3 separate regions of the Homo sapiens genome follow, and all the other regions are linked to region 2. Evidence: promoter capture Hi-C in human tissues and cell types (Jung and others, 2019). All regions are on one chromosome and are shown on one strand. Each heading gives the region's core, a stretch centred on a gene start or on the middle of the fragment in contact. The rest is flanking DNA. Distances are from core to core; before and after follow the strand shown. Region 1 overlaps UPP1 (uridine phosphorylase 1). Region 2 holds the start of VWC2 (von Willebrand factor C domain containing 2). Region 3 overlaps ABCA13 (ATP binding cassette subfamily A member 13).

Region 1 (2,846 bases), core at 300-2,799, 1.7 Mb after region 2:
CTCAGTATAAACTAAGTACCATCAGTAACCCCATTCAAAGTCCAAGGTCACATCCTTCCTAAGAGGCTGTACTCCTGAGCTCTACACCTGACTGCCTTTCAGCAAGTGGAACATGATTAGCAGATAGCTGAGGATAAAACAAGGGAGGGTAAAATAATTACTGAAGAGAGGGAAGGGGAGGAAACCCTCACTGAGTTGCTTGGCACTTGGTGTGCCGGCCCTGTTTTCTCCAGCCTTCATTTCTACCACTCCCCTCCACCCCCACCAGCCTCCTACTAGGCCTCAACCTCAAGCCATGGCAGGAGGAGGAAGGAGGGGAGCTCCAGAAACTGGGGACAAGGCATTTTTGGCTGTCAATGACTGAAAATACCAGGAATACTATTAGTTCAATTAAAAAATAATCACTGAGGCAGGCCACAGTGGCTCACGCCCGTAATCCCAGCACTTTGGGAGACTGAGGCGGGTGGATCACTTGAGGTCAGGAGTTTGAGACCAGCCTGGCCAACATGGTGAAACCCCATCTCTACTAAAAATACAAAATTAGCCAAGTGTGCTGGCTTGCACCTGTAATCCCAGCTACCTGGGAGGCCGAGGCACCAGAATTGCTTGAAACTGGGAAGCAGAGGTTGCAGCAAGCTGAGATTGCGCCACTCACTGCACTCCAGCCTGGGCGACAAGAGCAAAACTCCATCTCAAAAAAAAAAAATCACTGCAGGGAATGTCCACAGGCACCAGAAACTCCAAAATGGACACCAGGACTTCTGGGGAATGGAGGAGGAGAAGAGCATTGTCCATATGGAATTATGACCTGGGTATGCAGCTGTCACATGTGAGACTTCAGAGAGGTCTCAGGGAAGTTACAGAGGAACAAAGGACCAGGAGTCCAGAGCAAGGGGGGCCAGAGGTCACCACAACCCTGGGTGGTGCCAAGGTCAGAGGCCACCAAGACTGGGGAGAGGCCATGGCGGCAGGACAGAAGGCCTGCCCAGGTAACCCCAGCAGAGGTGGGAGACAACTGGGGGGGTGAGAAAATAAGAATAATCAGCGGATTAAAGTTCACATAGGAATCAGAATGAAGACAAGAAATTCTTGCTTTTCTAGCAATGCCTAAACACAAGTGGTGTCATGCCAAGCATACCAGAAGTATGACAAACTGCAAAGAAATAAGAAGGCATTTAAAATTCAGAACCAAGGCAGAGCTGAGTGATAAGCAGGGGATTTTGTTTAAGAAATTGGCACATAGAGGAAAAACCTACTAGACAGAGATTTGAGCAGGGACTTGTCTGGTTTTCTGAAACAACATGTCCTAAGAATCAAGAGCTGAGGCCCCAGCACCCGACCCCGGAGGTCTTTAACCATCTAATGTACGAACCTCCTGAGTCATTAATCCCTCCAGGCCTCAGTCTCTTTCACAAGCATCAAATGTGTTAATATATGTCAAGTCCTTAGAAAAATGTGTGGCACAACATATGCTCTATAAACAACCCAACCCCACCCAACCCAACCTGGAATGAAATGGAGCCTTACTTGTGACTTTCAGCTTTCTCTGCATTGGCTCCCGTGGCCGCCATTCCGCCAACTGAGGCAGGACCCTAAGGAAAAAAAATCACAGAATGGAGTGAATCCACTCAGTAGAAACCAAGATCGTGCAGAGCCCCACTAATATGTAGAAAGTCAGTGCAATGAAGTGGAATTCCTTACACACCTGATGTAAGTGTGTGAATTGTGTGAGAAATAGAAACAGAGAGAGAGGAGAGTGTGTATGTGTGTTTATAGCATTGCTAGTTTCAGAGAGGAGGTGCTGAAAATGTGCCAAAAGCCTAAGTGGACAGGCACCTCACACCTCCAGAGAACCTGTCCCCTTTATGCCTGTAAACCCAGCACTTTGGGAGGCCAAGGTGGGTGGAGATCATGAGTTCAAGACAAGCCTGTCCAATACAGTGAAACACCATCTCTACTAAAAATACAAAAATTAGCCAGGTGTGGTGGCAGGCGCCTGTAATCCCAGCTACTCTCAGGAGGCTGAGGGAGGACAATCGCTTGAACCTGGGAGGCAGAGGTTGCAGAGCGACACTCCGTCTCAAAAAACAAAACAAAACAAAACAAAAACCTGTCCCTTATTCCCAATTTCCCAGCTCAGCAAGTCAAGACTCACTGACCCAACACACCACACCTCTCTGCCTCCCTTTTTTTAATAGAGACAGTCTCGCTCTGTCACCCAGGCTGGAGTGCAGTGGTGCCATCTCGGCTCACTGCAACCTCCGCCTCCCAGGTTCAGGCAATTCTTCTGCCTCAGCCTCCCGAGTAGCTGAGACTACAGACACACGCCACCATGTTCAGCTAATTTTTGTATTTTTAGTAGAGACAGGGTTTCACCATGTTGGGCAGGCTGTTCTCGAACTGCTGACCCCAGGTGATCCACCAGCCTCGGCCTCCCAAAGTGCTGGGATTACAGGTGTGAGCCACTGCGCCTGGCCTCTGCCTCACTTTTCTAGAATCTCAGATGCTCTTCTCCCCAGGAAGAATTGGGTCAAAGATGGGTAAAAGTTATCAGCTCCAGGGGGAGCAGCGGGGACAGGGGACCACCATAGGAGGGAGAGGGACTGAGGCTGACCTGAGTCAGCCCACGGCCCCGTCTCCACTGCAAAGTCCCATGAAGGAAAAACGTGGCGTACCTGAAGTTATTCTACTAGGGCTCAGTAGTCAGAAACCCCCAAGACCACTTCTCTGTGTGGAGAAGGGCAGGGTTTTGCCAGAGCTCTTTGAAGGAGGGTGAGACTCACGTTTTGAACTCAGTTAATAAAGAAACAAATCCCCAAATGCCCTGTAATGGCCAGGCCCCCAAC
Region 2 (2,700 bases), core at 133-2,632:
AGCTCTGCCTTGAACCACGTAATTCAGGCACCCAGGGTGTCCCTCCCTAGGTCCTGGCCACATTTCCCGAAGGTTATTAAATGGAGAATTCAGCAGTGGAGTTAGAGACGGACGAATGTACAGGAAGATAAGAGGGAAACTCTTCCTCATTTGCTTTAGGGGGTTGTGCTGGGAAAATGCGGGGAGGTTAAACAAAGCTTCTCCTAGGACTCCACGATTCATTTCTAACAACTTCTTAAAAGACTCCCGTCTCGGGAGCAGACGCCCCCTCCCCGCTCTCTAAGCCCCGCTGCATGAAAGGATGCCCTCGGCCCCTTGCCAGAGGGCCGGGTCGGGGATTCCCGGGGCTTCAGCTCCTCTGCCGGCCCGCCCCTCCGAGCCTTGGGAGCCAGGTCGCCGGCCGCAGCGCTCAGTCTTGTAGTGTCCTGGCTGCGGAGCAGAAGCGCCCGGGCAGCACCAAGGTGTGCAGTGCGGGAGGCTGGGGCCCCAGGGCGCAGAGTGGGCGCGAGACCCTCCTACTCGCTGGATCCCGGCCAGCCTTTCTGGATTCCAAAGTTTCTGCCGCCCAAAGGGGCTGGGAGAGCCCGAGACGCCGCAGGACACCGGCAATCCAGCCTCTCTCCGCCTCACTCCCCGAACGCCCCCACTCTGCGCACTCCGGTGCGTCTGTCCCCTCCCCCTCAGCCCTCCTCCCTGAGGGCTCCGGACGTGCCCGGCCCTGCTGACCCCCTGCCCGGTCCCTGCCGACCTCAACACTGGGCGAAGCGCCCATATTCACAAACTTGGGCGGGGGAGGGGGTTCCTCCGGAGCAGCTGAGCGGCTGAACCCAGCTGGAGCGCGTCCGGCCGCGCGGGGACACCCAGCATGCACCCTCAGCCCTGAAGACCGGCGCCAAACCTACATACATGAGCGCAGGGCGCGGGCCGGACGCCGGGCTCGCAGCGGGCGCAGGGGTAGCAGCGGCGGGCGCGGGCCCGGGTTGCCAGCGCCCATCCTGGGCCGGCCGGCGACCCGCGTGGGGCGGACCACTAACAGCCCAGCCCCACCTGCGCGCTCCGCCTGGCGCGCACACCGGGCTAGGGCGTCTCTGGGGAGTCGCTCATCGCGCTGTCAGCTGCCGGTAGTCGCGGCCCCAACTCGCGTCAGTGCCCGCGTCGCCCTCAGTCGCTCATCCTCCGGCCTCGTCCCCGCTTCTCCGAGACCAAGCGCGCCCCGGGGGCCACCCTGGCGCCGCCTCGCTCCTCTCCGCGGAGGGGTTCGGGGAGCTCTCCAGACCCGGCAGCCGGAATGTCTGGGCAGCCGTGGCGCGTCGGAGGGAAAAGAGAAGCCCGGAGCGCGGCCGGCGCGCGAGTGGCACCGAGGCCAGCATGGGAGCTAGCGCGCCCGCCTCCCGCCTCCCCCTGCCGCAGCCGCCTCCGCCCGGCTCCCGTTCCGCTCCCTCCTCTGCTGCCCCCGCTCTGGAGGCCCCGCCTTGGCCCGCGCTGCCCCGGGGGAGGCCCTCGCGCTGCCCCCGGAGAGGCCCTACCGCCGCACCCGCTCCCTTTGCTGCGCCGGACCAACCTGTCACTCGTCCGCGCGGCCGCGTCCCCACCTCCGCAGCCGGCCGCAGACCCTGCCAGGGCTGCCATTCTCCAGTCGAGTCATTCACTTTGCGCTGGACCTTTCATCTTGGCTTTTCTCTTTTCTTTAATTTCTTCCTTCCTAATTGGCCCCCTCTGGCTTTCCTCTTTGTGGACAGCTTGTTTCAGCTACTGTGTTCAGATTGGGATTCGAAGGCCGTGTTAGTTTAGCAGACTGTTGAGACTTTCTCGTCTTTGCATTCAGAAACCCAGAGAAATAGACGTTTACGAGTAAGAAACGTAAAAATCTCAAGCGCGAACTTTCTGAATCTCTGCCAATCTCTCCCCGCTCCCATCTTCCTCTTTCTGCCTGCTCTCTCTTCTACTACAAATAGAAACCTGTTTCCTAACTTTGCTAGAATCCTCAACTGTTAAGCAGAGGCCCGGTTGTTTTTACTCTTTGATCTTGTGTAAACGAGAAAACGTCAATAGTACCTGTTCAAATTAATCCCCGAAATTGAATTTTCATGGAAATGGCCCATGGCAGTGGTTCCCACTCACGGCATTTTAGAATCCCTGAAAGTGCTCGGACGGTAAACAGATAAGCTTCCCTGCAAGGTCAGGCGCTCTGGCTGGTGGGAACTGGGGAGGCTGGTTTGGGACACAGTTATGTCTATCTTTTAATAGTATAGACAAACAAATCTTAGCTGAGGTGCTAGGGAGCCCTCCTTGAAAGCCTGAGAAGGCTGCCCCTCCACCCCCTCCAACACATACACAACCAACAGGGCTGGATGGAGGATTTCTTTCTCTCTCTCTCTCTCTTTTTTTTTTTTTTCAGACGGAGTCTCGCTCTGTGGCCTAGCCTGGAGCGCAGTGGCGCGATCTCCACTTACTGCAAGCTCGATTCCCGGGTTCATGCCTTTCTGCCGCCTCAGCCTCCTGAGTAGCTGGGACTACAGTCGTCCGCCATCACCCCCAGCTAATTTTGTTTTTGTATTTTTAGTGAGACGGGGTTTCACCATGTTGGACATGATGGTCTCGATCTCCGGACCTCGTGATCCTCCTGCCTCGGTCTCCCAAAATGCTGGTGAGCCACCGCGCCTGGCCTGGATGGAGGATTTCTATGTACAGGATGATTTG
Region 3 (2,700 bases), core at 60-2,559, 1.5 Mb after region 2:
CTCAAAAAAAATAAATAAATAAGCAACAGGTGAATTCTACCAAATGTATAAAGAAGAACTGATACCATCCCTACTGAAACTAATCCAAAAAATTGCAGAGGAGGGACCCCTCCCTAACTCATTCTATGAGCCTAGCATCATCCTGATACCAAACCCTGGCAGAGACACAAAACAACAACAACAAAAATTTCAGGCCAGTATGCTTGATGAACATAGATGCAAAAATCCTCAACAACATACTATCAAACCAAATCAGCAACACATCAGAAAGCTAATCCACTACAATCAAGTAGGCTTTATCCCAGGGTTGAAAGTTTGGTCCAACATATACAAATCAGTAAATGTGATTTATCACATAAACAGAACTAAAAACAAAAACCACATGATCATCTCAATAGATGCAGAAAAGGCTATTGATAAAATTCAACATCCCTTCATTTTAAAAACCCTTAACAAACTAGGCAATGAAGGAACATACCTCAAAGTAATAACAGCCCATCGATGAAAAACACACAGCCAAAATCATACTAAGTGGGAAAGAGCTAGAAGAATTTCCCTTTAGAACTGTAACAGGACAAGGATGACCACTCTCACCACTCCTATTCACCATAATACTGAAAGTCCTATCCAGAGCAATCAGGCAAGAGAAAGAAATAAAAGGCAGCCAAACAGGAAGAGAGGAAGTCTCCAAACAGGGATAGTTTTATCCTTGTTTGCAAGATGATACAATCCTATACCTAGAAAACCCCATAGTCTGCCCCAGAGCCCCTAGATCTGATAAGCAACTTCAGCAAAGTTTCAGAATAGAAAATCAATGTACAAACCAACAATATCCAAGATGAAAGCCAAATCAAGAACAGAATCACATTCACAATAGCCACAAAAAGAATAAAATACCTAGGAATACAGCTAACCAGGAAGGCGAAAGATCTCCTCAATGAGAATTAAAAAACACTGCTCAAAGAAATCACAGGTGATACAAACAAATGGAAAAACATCCCATGTTCATGGATAAGAAGAATCAATATTATTAAGATTTCCCAAAGCAATTCACAGATTCAATGTTATTCTTAACAAACTACCGATGACATTCTTTACAGAATTTGAAAAAACTATTTTAAAATTCATATGGAATCAAAAAAGTGCCCGAATAGCCAAGGCAATCGTAAGCAAAAGAGCAATGCTGTAGGGATTACATTACCCACCTCCAAACTATACTACATGGCTACAGAAACCAAAACAACATGGTACTGGTAAAATAATAAAAATAAAAAATAAAACACATATACCAACGGAACAGAATAGACAGCCCAGAGCCCAGAAGTAAGGCCACACACCTAAAACCATCGATCTTTGACAAAGTTGACAAAAACTAGCAATAGGGATAGGATTCCTTAATCAATAAAAGGTGCTGGAATAACTGGCTAGCCATGTGCAGAAGATTGAAGCTGGATCCCTTTCTCATCTCATATAAAAAAATCAACTCAAGATGGATTAAAGATTTAAATGTTAAACCTAAAACTATCAATATCCTGGAAGATAACCTAGGCAATATCATTCTGCACATGGGAACAGGAAAAGATTTCAAGATGAAGATATCAGAGTTATTGCAACAACAACAAAAAATCGACAAATAGGACCCAAGTAAACTAAAGAGCTTCTGCACAGCAAAAGAAACTATCAAGAGAGTAAACAGACACCCTACAGAACAGGAGAAAATATTTGCAAACTATGCATCCAACAAAGGTCTAATATCCAGAATCTATAAGGAATTTAAAAAACCAACAAGCAAAAAACAACCCCATTAAAAAGTAGGCAAAAGACATGAACAGACACTTTTTAGAAGAAGACATGCACATGGCCAATAAGTATATGAAAAAATACTCCACTGCATTAGAGAAATACAAATCAAAACCACTGAGATACCATCTCACTGCAGTCAGAATGGCTATCATTAAAAAGTCAAAAAGTAACAGATGCTGGTGAGGTTGTGGAGAAACGGGAACACTTACACACTGTTAGAGGGAAAGTAAATTAGATCAACATCGTGGAAAACAGTGTGGCAATTTCTTAAAGAACTGAAAACAGAATTACCATTTGACCCAGCAGTCCCATTATTGTGTATATACCCAAAGGAATGTATATCATTGTACCATAAAGACACATGCACACATATGTTCATCACAGTACTATTCACAATAGCAAAGTCATGGAATCCAGCTAGATGTCCATCAAGAGTTGATTGGATAAAGAAAAGGTGGTACATATACTCCCATGAAACACTACACAGCCATAAAAAAGAATGAAATCATGTCCTTTGCAGTAACATGGATGTAGCTGGGGGCCAGTATTCTCAGAAAATTAATTCAGGAACAGAAAATCAAATACCACATGTTCCCATTTATAAGTGGGAACTAAATATGGTGTACATATAAATATAAAAGTGGCAACAATAGAAATTGGGAGCTAAAGATTAGGGAAAGAGGGGTGGGCAAGGGTTGAAAAACTAACTATTGGATACTATGTTCACTACCTGGGTGATGGGATCATCACATACTGTCTTAAGTATTAATTCCTTTAATATTATGAAACTTATTTATAGATAAGGAAACTGAAGCAATTTGCCACCAAATCACATGGCTAATCTGTTGCAAAGCCAAGATTAGAAACTAATTAGTCTGACGTCAGCATTCAAGCTCT

The links. Contacts are between HindIII fragments. The study calls those that stand out against the background at their distance.
Region 1: a fragment that was not itself captured here is called in contact with the fragment with the promoter of VWC2 in region 2 in 1 of the 25 tissues and cell types used here (stomach).
Region 3: a fragment that was not itself captured here is called in contact with the fragment with the promoter of VWC2 in region 2 in 1 of the 25 tissues and cell types used here (dorsolateral prefrontal cortex).

The regions. Positions count from the first base shown.
Region 1 is chr7:48,093,509-48,096,354 of GRCh38, reverse strand. It overlaps UPP1 (uridine phosphorylase 1), which reads right to left. Exons shown (of 9, transcript NM_003364.4): 3 at 1,528-1,592. The coding sequence starts at 1,571. Among named protein-coding and RNA genes, the nearest start is that of UPP1, 5.7 kb to the right of the region's middle. The HindIII fragment of the contact is 6,395 bases long and covers 1-2,846 here.
Region 2 is chr7:49,772,320-49,775,019 of GRCh38, reverse strand. VWC2 (von Willebrand factor C domain containing 2) reads right to left here and starts at 1,382. Exons shown (of 4, transcript NM_198570.5): 1 at 907-1,382. The HindIII fragment of the contact is 7,488 bases long and covers 1-2,700 here.
Region 3 is chr7:48,255,245-48,257,944 of GRCh38, reverse strand. The region is part of intron 15 of ABCA13 (ATP binding cassette subfamily A member 13); the gene reads right to left. Among named protein-coding and RNA genes, the nearest start is that of ABCA13, 85 kb to the right of the region's middle. The HindIII fragment of the contact is 3,964 bases long and covers 1-2,700 here.